Regions from separate parts of the Homo sapiens genome. Here region 1 is linked to region 2. The links are contacts of gene promoters, found by promoter capture Hi-C in human tissues and cell types (Jung and others, 2019). All regions are on one chromosome and are shown on one strand. The core of a region is centred on a gene start or on the middle of the fragment in contact, and the rest is flanking DNA. Distances in the headings are between cores, read along the strand shown. Region 1 has its middle 16 kb from the start of KRTAP19-6. Region 2 holds the start of KRTAP6-2 (keratin associated protein 6-2).

What was found. The method cuts DNA at HindIII sites, captures the fragments that hold promoters and counts their contacts. A contact is called where the count stands out against the background at its distance.
Region 1: a contact is called between a fragment that was not itself captured here and the fragment with the promoter of KRTAP6-2 in region 2, in 2 of the 25 tissues and cell types used here (dorsolateral prefrontal cortex and pancreas).

Annotation. Positions count from the first base shown.
Region 1 is chr21:30,523,086-30,527,854 of GRCh38, reverse strand. No RefSeq gene overlaps it. Among named protein-coding and RNA genes, the nearest start is that of KRTAP19-6, 16 kb to the left of the region's middle. The HindIII fragment of the contact is 3,717 bases long and covers 329-4,045 here.
Region 2 is chr21:30,596,937-30,601,658 of GRCh38, reverse strand. KRTAP6-2 (keratin associated protein 6-2) reads left to right here and starts at 2,757. Exons shown (of 1, transcript NM_181604.2): 1 at 2,757-3,069. The coding sequence starts at 2,785. The coding sequence ends at 2,973. KRTAP22-1 (keratin associated protein 22-1) reads right to left here and starts at 572. Exons shown (of 1, transcript NM_181620.2): 1 at 277-572. The coding sequence starts at 538. The coding sequence ends at 392. The HindIII fragment of the contact is 6,207 bases long and covers 1-4,722 here.

The DNA.
Region 1 (4,769 bases), core at 938-3,437, 73 kb after region 2:
AAGCACAGATTTTCCCAATAATGAAAAGGCCATTGTCCCTTTATTTACGTTTCTTCTTTCAATTTGCTCCCATTTAAGGACCCTCAAAGCTATATAAGGAGATAAGCTTTCACAGTGTAATATATTTTTCTTTCATATAATTACATTTGTGAGCTGACAGAGAGGTAAGTTATGAAGGGTTTGTTGCTCTATGCTTAGGGGGCTTTGCAGCAAATGTCGAAAACAGAGATGTAAATTATTATTGTCTTTGCACATGTATGAAAATGGATATTTTAAAAGATTGAGAATCTCACTCAAGTGGGTAGAAACAGGACTTTGAAATAACAACAGGCATTGCTGCATATACTGGGCTCTCAACTAGTGTGCTCTAACACCTTCAAACTCATGCCAATTAATAAGTAGGAAACTGTAATTTCTGGATTAGGAGGAGAGCGGTGGTTCTTGATAAAAGGAGAGAATGAGAGACAAGGACTAACAAAATTAGATATGATGCAAGAGGTCAGATTGCATCAAGTAATCTAGTTAGGCTATGTTAAGCACAGTCATAAGCTTTGAAGAATTGGCAGTCATTACCTTTTATTGTAAGAGCTGACACTAAGAAGTTCAGAGAAAGCAAATAAGTAAATATAATTATACATGAGTAGCATTAAAACTTCTCAAATTGGCCGGGCGCGATGGCTCACGCCTGTAATCACTTTGGGAGGCCGAGGCCAGCGGATCATGAGGTCAGGAGATCGAGACCATCCCGGCTAATACGGTGAAACCCTGTCTCTACTAAAAATACAAAAAATTAGCTGGGCGTGGTGGCGGGTACCTGTAGTCCCAGCTACTCGGGAGGCTGAGGCAGGAGAATGGTGTGAACCCGGGAGGCGGAGATTGCAGTGAGCCGAGATTGCGCTGCTGCACTCCAGCCTGCGTGACAGAGCGAGACTCTATCTCAAAAAAAAAAAAAAAAAAAACAAAAAACTTCTCAAATCACAAAACAAGAATATACTTGGGCTGTTTTGCACATTAGTGAAAGAAACAAAAATGAGAAATATCTATGTAGTGCCCCCCCACCCCCGAGAGAATATAAAAGTCTAGGCGTGGGTGGTGATATTTATTCTTAGGAAATTCAACTTCAACATCAAACCAATCTTCAACCCCCAACATAATGAGCTACTAGTACAGCAAGGACTACAGTGGACATGGCTATGGCCTTGGTGGTTTTGGTAGTCTGGACTATGGCTATGGATCTAGCTATGGGCTTGATGGTGGTTATGGCTGTGACCATTCTTATCCCTCTTTCTATGAAGGATATTGGTAATCTTCACTCCTTTTGAAAATATAGTCTATTGCAAATAAATTCAGAGCTTTTATATTATTTTCATCTTCGTTCTTTTGTTTTCTTCACTGTTATCAGTGACATATTTCAGAGCCAGTCATGAGCCCCTGAAGACATCCTAATGGAGACCAATTCTCCAAATCTGCAGGGATTTGTTTCCCTTAGCTGGAATCTTAGCACCAGTCTAGTCGAGGTATCCACATTCCCACTGTGTTATTAGCATGAAGCTTTTCTTCTTTATCCCTTTGATGATATTTCCGCACATATTCCCTAATAAAATTTGCTTATGGGAATCTAAAACCATGCTCCTCTTTCCATAGAAGTTATTGGTCCTCTGGATTCTACTGAAAAGAAAAAAAATTGATCATCACATTAGAACTCAAAATTTTAGGATTCTTTCCCTGATAGAAGGTTTTATGCCCTTCAGTATCACCAGTGATATTTTTCTGAGGGCTTTTCTTAATGAAGATCTCACCATGCAAAAGGCACATTTGTTTCAGTGTGGACCTACTTTTCTGACTTAGAATTTCATCACTCAAGCTAGGTATTGTCTTCTCTGCTACAATAATAAAATGCCACTGACTTCATTCTTATGTGATATTTCCGGAGACACTTTCTAGTAAATTTTCTTCATAAGCCTATAAAGCCTGACATCATTTTTTAATTCATTCCAATGCATTTGAGTTTTACATTTAAAAAAATACTCTCATTTAAAAAATTTTCCCTATGAAAATATGTACTTTATACCTATTATTCCTTATCTTTGAAGGTGATCAAAGTTTTAAGAGGACACATTGTTTAGTTAATGTGGTTTGTTGCTAAGAGCAGACTTCCATTATTATGATATTCATGGAAACTAAATAATTTAGACATTTCAAATTCCAGTAAGTTTGGCATTTCCCTTCATGTACATTTTTTTTTCATTGGTTTGCTGGGGCCACTTCATACCAGCTCACAAAAGGCAATTTTGAGCATCTCTTTCCAGCTCTGTGTTTAGAGGCGTCACATTGCTAAGTTGAAAGAGAACGTGATGGGAGTATTTATACTACAGAGATCAGCAAATGCTACAAATTAGACTTTTTTCAGAGAGCCTTTTTTTTTTTGTCACGACTGATGACATTTATTCTGAATTAGGTACAACATTGAGTTCCTAAAAATCTTCATTATATAAGAAGAGGGTGATGTTTTGATGTTTTCCATGTGGATTTTGCATTTCTCCCATAGTCATTTGTTTGCTTGGTTGTGCAAGTGAAAGGTAACTTCTGCATCCTTTCCTGGTGAGACAGAATATTATATATGCAATAGGTTACATGAAACAGACCTGTTACTTACAGATAGGGAGCAAGGGACAATGGAAGCCTAGGGTTCATTGTAAGTTCATCCCCCAAGTCTCAGAAAAGCTGCCTGGAGAAGATAGAGTCTTCACTGTATGCACCCCACTTGTACTACAGCTGAGGGATCCCCCCAAAGCAGCCCACTCTGAGTTTTATACCCCAGGGTCACATTAATCATGGGAATAAAGCATGGAAGGAACTCTTGTGTCTAGGGGAATCAGTAACAAATCCTAGGCTGTTCTGGATGGCTAGGGAATAAATGTGGAAAGGGAATAAATGCTTTCTCAGACAAACAACAACAACAGCAACAATAAACAAAGAAATGAAGTATCAGTAGCCTTCCCTGCAAGAAATGTTAAGAAAAAGATTTTCAGTCATAGGAAGATGGTTAAAAACCTTGGATCTATGTAAACAAACGAGGAGCAACAGAAGAAATGAACGGAGAAGAAATGAAAGAAGGTAAATTGTTTAATTTTTCTATCCTTAATTGCTTTAACATAACTGTTCAGTTAAGGCAAAAATAGTCACAAGGTATTAGTTAAAAGAGAATATAGATAAGTGAAACGTTATAAAGAGAGGTGAAAGAAATTTGGGATATTCTATTAGTAGGTACATGTAGTAAATGTGAATTGCTATGCTATTATTTGAAGGTGAACTTATATTAGTTAAGAACATATATTGTAAACTCCAGGGGAAACACTAAAAATAAAAATAGAAATAAGTATAATTGATATACCTTTCAAGAGGGCAGATAAAATTCAATCATATAAATTATACATTTAATACCAGAAAAGGAAGAAAACATAGGAAAATAGAAATAAAGACCTAACGCTATGAGTGGAAAATAGTCACAAACATAACAGATATCAATCTAACTATATTAATAATCACCTTAAATGTAAATGATATAAATAAAGCAATTATAAAACTAAGCTTGCCAGCATGGGTTAAAAAAAAAAAAAAACTTTATACACTCAGGACCCAACTACATGGTGACTATAAAAGAAAAACACACTCTGACTACCAAGATTCAGGTTGCGGTAAAAGAATTAAAAAAAATTCCATGAAAACATTAATCAAAAAAAAAAAGCTGAGGTTCCTATATTAATTTCAAGTAAAGAAACTTCAGGACAAGGAAAGTTATCAAGAGAAAAAAAAGCATTAAATAAAGGTTAAAGGATCAATTCTTTAAAAAAGTATAACAATTTTAAACTGTATATACTTAACGTAAGAGTGTAAAAACATATAAGGCAAAAATTGATTAAAGTGAAAGGAGAAATCGGCAAATTCAATATTGTAATTGGAGACTTCAGTACCCTTCTGTCAATAATTGATAGCTTGAGATAGCAGGAAGTCAGTAAAGATACAGATGGTGATATTGTTTGGCTGTGTCCCCACCCAAATCTCATCTTGACCTGTAGTTCCCATAATCCTCATGTGTTGTAGGAGGGACCCAGTGGAAGGTAATTGAATCCTGGGGGTGGCTACCTGCATGATATTCACATGATAGTGAGTGAGTTCTCATCACATCTGACGGTTTTATAAGGGTCTTTTCCCTGCCTTTACTCTGCACTTCTCCTTACTGCCACCATGTGAAGAAGGACATGTTTGCTTCCCCTTCTGCCATGGTTGTATGTTTCCTAGGGCCTCCCCAGCCCTGGGGAACAGTGAGTCTATTGAACTTCTTTCCTTTATAAATTACCCGGTCTCAGGTATGTCCTTATTAGTGGCATGAGAACAGACTAATACAGATGGTGTGAAGAGTACACATCATCAATTTGCTATAATTCACATTTTTAAAGCATTCCATCCAACAAAAGCAGAAAACATTTTTTCTCAAGCTTACTCAGAACATTCATCAAGATAGGTAACATTGTGGGCCATAAAATATATCTTAACAATTTTAAAAGAATAGAAAACACACAAAGTATGTTCTTAGATTACAGAATAAATAAACTAGAAATCAATAATGGAAAGATACATTCCCACATGTTTGAAAAGTAAAGCAGCACATTTATAAATAGCACACAAATTTTTTAAAGTATCAAGTGCGCGTGAAAAAAGATACATTGAAACAAATGAAAAAAGACAGTGGAACTTGTTAAAATGTG
Region 2 (4,722 bases), core at 1,508-4,007:
AAGTTTCCAATGGGTCAGCAACCTTACATATGTGCTCCTGAACACACACACACAATCACAAATAATATAGGTACTCTAGATAAATAAATATAGGTAGGAAAATGCTGTAGGTTTGCAAAATAAATTACCTTTGAAGAAAAATAAATTTAGACTTTTTCCCAAATGAAAATGCTTAACATTATTTGTACTTAATCATATACTAGTAACACAACATCAAAGGTTCTTTTTTCGTTTGATTAAATTGTTGGAAATTCCAGCTAATTGATCAAATAAATTCTGACTTGGCAATGTGGGCTAAATTTTAGTTGTCACTCTTTGAACAGAAAAAAACACGGGAAGAAAACATAGCTCATAAGAGAATGGCCTAAACAGATCAGCAATCTCTAATTTCTCAGAAGCAGCCAGAAAACCAAGATCTTTCATAACACCATGGGCAGTAGCAGGCATAGCCATAGCCGCTAAGACCACAGCCATAGCTGCAGCCCAGGCCTCCTTTGGCATAGCCCTGGCCACCATGGTAGTTGTTATCAAAGCTCATGGTTTCAAGAAAGGTAGGCTCAGTTGTATAGCAGGATCAGATTCTAGAGTTTTAAGTTTATAGAGTTTTAAGTTTAAAGTTTTAAGCTTATAATAAGGGCCTTAAATGCCACATGAATGGTATGTGGGACAAATCACAGGCACTGTTAGATTCACATTCCACACTAATTAGCATTGAAACCATCTAAAATATTCCTTGTAACCAATACATCCAAGACAACTTTGCTGTTTCTCAGGAATGTTGAATATAATGAAATAATGTACCTTTAATAAGAGATCCATCTCCTATTTTGATGACTCGTTTATTTCAGATGTCAAATTTAAACTACATTACCAGCAACCAAGAGTAACCCACATGGCTTCCACTTGTTGTTGTTGTTGTTGTTGTTGTTGTGAGACAGAGACTAGCTCTGTTGCCTGGCTGGAGTGCAGTGGCACAATCTCACTGCAACCTCCACCTCCTGGTTTCAAGTGATTCTCCTGGATTCTCTGCCTCAGCCTTATGAATAGCTGGTGCGTGCCACCACGCCCAGCTAATTTTTGTATTTTTAGTAGAGATGGGGTTTCGCCATGTTGGCCAGGATGGTCTTGATCTCCTGACCTCAAGATCCGCCCGCCTCGGCCTCCCAAAGCCTGGGGTTATGGACGTGATGGCTTCCATTTTTTAAAAATCCTACTTTCACCCAATAATATCCTTCAGCCTAAATACATATATGCAGACTTGGGAATAAGAGTGTAGCTCCAAAGTGATAAGGAAGGATGATAAGCGTGTAAGAGAAGTCATGGTGGCAGCATTCACTTGTAAAATGTTGAGTGATAAGGTGTTTCATCACTTTTTGTGGAGCAATATCATTCTCTTTGGTTTATACTTCACATGTAGCTATCATTTTATATATGATTCTAAACCGTGGCAAAGACTTTGATTTTTGACTTCGTTGATTCTGGGTATATAGTAAGAAAAGGACTTCTATTAAAAATCTGAATTTTAAAACAATTCCAGAATTACTCAAAGATTTATTGGCATCATGACTCCCTGAGATGGCACAAGACAAGAGTTACATCTCTTCCCAAATGTATAACCTCAATCTACATATGAGGAAACCTTAGACAGATTCAATTGGGGAATATTCCACAAAATATCTGGCTCTCTAAAATTGTAAGGTCATAAAAGCCAAGAAAAGACGAATGAACCATGAGCAATTGGAGGTGACTAAGAAGTATAAAAACCAAATGCAATGTGAATTGGATCCAAGAACAGAAAAAAAGAACATTAAAATAAATATGTGAATAGTGCTACAATGAACCATGGTCCTAGAACTTAAAATAAAATAAGTTAATAATAACAGAAAAATGGTAAAATAAAGTCTGCAGTTTAGTTAAGAATACTGTACACAGTTAATTTCTTTGGTGTGATAAGTGGATTATGGTTATGAAAGATATTAATATTAGGGATGTTGAATGATGGATATATGGAAATTTTCTATACTATTTTGACAACTATCTCTATGCCTGAGATTATTTTAAGATAAGAAGTTAAAAGAGAATATAAAACTATTGTTCCATTTCATTGACTTGGTCACTTATTAATTCTTTTATAAATCAAGAAAATAACTTACATTTTCTTGTTCTTCCGTAGAGGTTGAACATAAAGGAAAATTAGACTCACTGGTATAAGTAGAAAAATACAACAAATTTTTCTCAGATCTGGTTTTCTAGAATTTTTAATTAGTTGAATTATTATCAACATCATGGCTTTAGTATAGAAAAGACACTAAATCCCTGAAAAAAGTATTATTTGGATAAAGAGAGCAGAAATACTAAAAGGGCAAAGTTATTGTTTGCTGAATGTTGTGCAAAAGAGTACAATTAATTGGGGCCTAGAGCAAATAAGAGTGTAACTAACAAAAGTCTTTCTTGATGTAAAGGATGGCTATAGAAAGTCTAGTTTGAGGCAGGATTATATGAGTGTGAGTGTGTGAGGTCTCCTTTCATCAGAGCCCTCAATCAGATAAGGGGAGCCCAAATTGCAAGGCCAAACAAAACAAGCCTCCTTAATACCTCTGCAGCATTATCTTACAATTGAGAAAAAACAAACTAATTATATTAGTCAAAAAATTAGCCAGTGGTATGCTACCTCTGCTGGATCATTCCCATCCTGAGGCATATAAAAGGACTTCTACAGGAAGTATCCATACTGAAGTCACCTACACTCCTTCCTACCCAAGGACAACCTCCACAACCATCACGATGTGCGGCAGCTACTACGGAAACTACTACGGCGACCATGGCTATGGGTGCTGTGGATACGAAGGCCTAGGCTATGGCTATGGAAGCCTGCGCTGTGGCTATAGCTCCTGCTGTGGCTATGGTCATGGCTACGGCTCCCGCTTCTTCTGTGGCTGTGGCTATGGATGCGGCTCTGGCTACTACTATTGAGGACACCGTGGGAGACTCATCCTCTATCCTGTGACATCGGGATTCACCAATTCTGAACCCCGTATGCTCTGAGCTCGGGGCTGGATGAAGATTATCTTATATTAAAAGTTTCTGATGTGATTTATCTGAAGACTGACCCTCCCACCCCCAGTACCCTCTGGATCTAGTATTTTCAACTTCCTTTTCTGCATTTAATGCATGAAAATTAAAATAATGTAAAATTCATCCTATGAACTCCTGTGGTCTCTCATCAAGATGATGCTGTTATAGATCTTGCTTTTTGATTTTCATGCAGGAACTTATTTTCTGTTTTCCTAATACACTTTTTCAATCTGGAATTACCATCCTGATTTTCTTTTCATTAGTATCCAGTATTTATCTTTTTAGCTTTCTTCCCAATTTATGTTAACCTAACAATGTCTCAACGTAACCCATGTTATCACTGCTTCAATAGAATAGAAAACCGAGCATGAACAGAGCAGAAAACCGTGCATCATTTATGGGTTGATTATTTGCGTATGAAAATCATTTACTGTCAAACTTGTTCTATGTAGTTCATATCACAACTCTACATAAATAATTTATAATCTAAATAACCATAATTAAGTAGCATTTATTAGCCGTTTAGCATAGAGCAATCACTGTGCCAAGTTTTTAACGTACATCATCTCAAATGAGCCTCAGAATGAATGCATGATGTGTTAAAATTTTCCCCATTTTCCTGTAATCCCACCACTTTGGGAAGCTGAGACAGGTGGATCATTTGAGGTCAGGAGTTCAAGACCAGCCTGGCCAATATGGTGAAACCCCGTCTCTATTAAAAATACAAAAAAACCAGCCAGGGGCCATGGTGGTGCACACCTGTAATCCCAGCTACTTGGGAGGGTGAGGTGGGAGAATCGCTTAAACCCGGGAGGCAGAGGTTGCAGTGAGCCGAGATTGTGCCACTGCACTCCAGCCTGGGTGACATCTTTTTCAAGAAAAAGAAAAAAAAAATTGGCCGGTCATGGTGGCTCATGCCTGTAATCCCAGCACTTTGGGAGGCCGAGGCGGGCAGATCACAAGGTCAGGAGATCAAGACCATCCTGGCTAACACAGTGAAACCCCATCTCTACTAAAAATATAAAAAAAAATTAGCCGGGCTTGGTGGCGGGCCCCTGTAGTCCTAGCTACAGGAGAATGGCGTGAACCTGGTAGGGGGAGGTTTCAGTGAGCTGAGATCGCGCCACTGCACTCCAGCCTGGGTGACAGAGTGAGACTCTATCTAAAAAAAAAAAAAAAAAAAAAAAAAAAAAAAAGAGAAAAAAACTTATCCCCATTTTAGAGCTGAATAGATAGAAGTAAAGAGAATGGAGTAACTTTCTCATTGGCAGGTGTGGCAAAAGAGATATTTCATACCCACCTGTTTGTTGTCTCTTTGTAGATTCATCTAAAGTATTTATTTTCTTTGACTCTAGATAATTGCAGGGATTGTTTAACCACTAAATGCAAAGTTATCTCCCGGGATAGGCTTAGTTATTACTGTTATTTAATGTTATTGACTTAAATTAAAATTATCTGAAGAACAATTTTGTTTTTTACCTCTTTACCCAACGAAAATCTTCCATTCCACTTTTCTCTGCTTTTTAAATTTATACTGACCACTCTATTTACGAAATTTCAGCTCACACATTAGACGTTTATAATCTTTCATGCACATCTCTTACTTTTTGGCACAATCTTTTTATGCCTTTTCTCCAAATTCTAGGA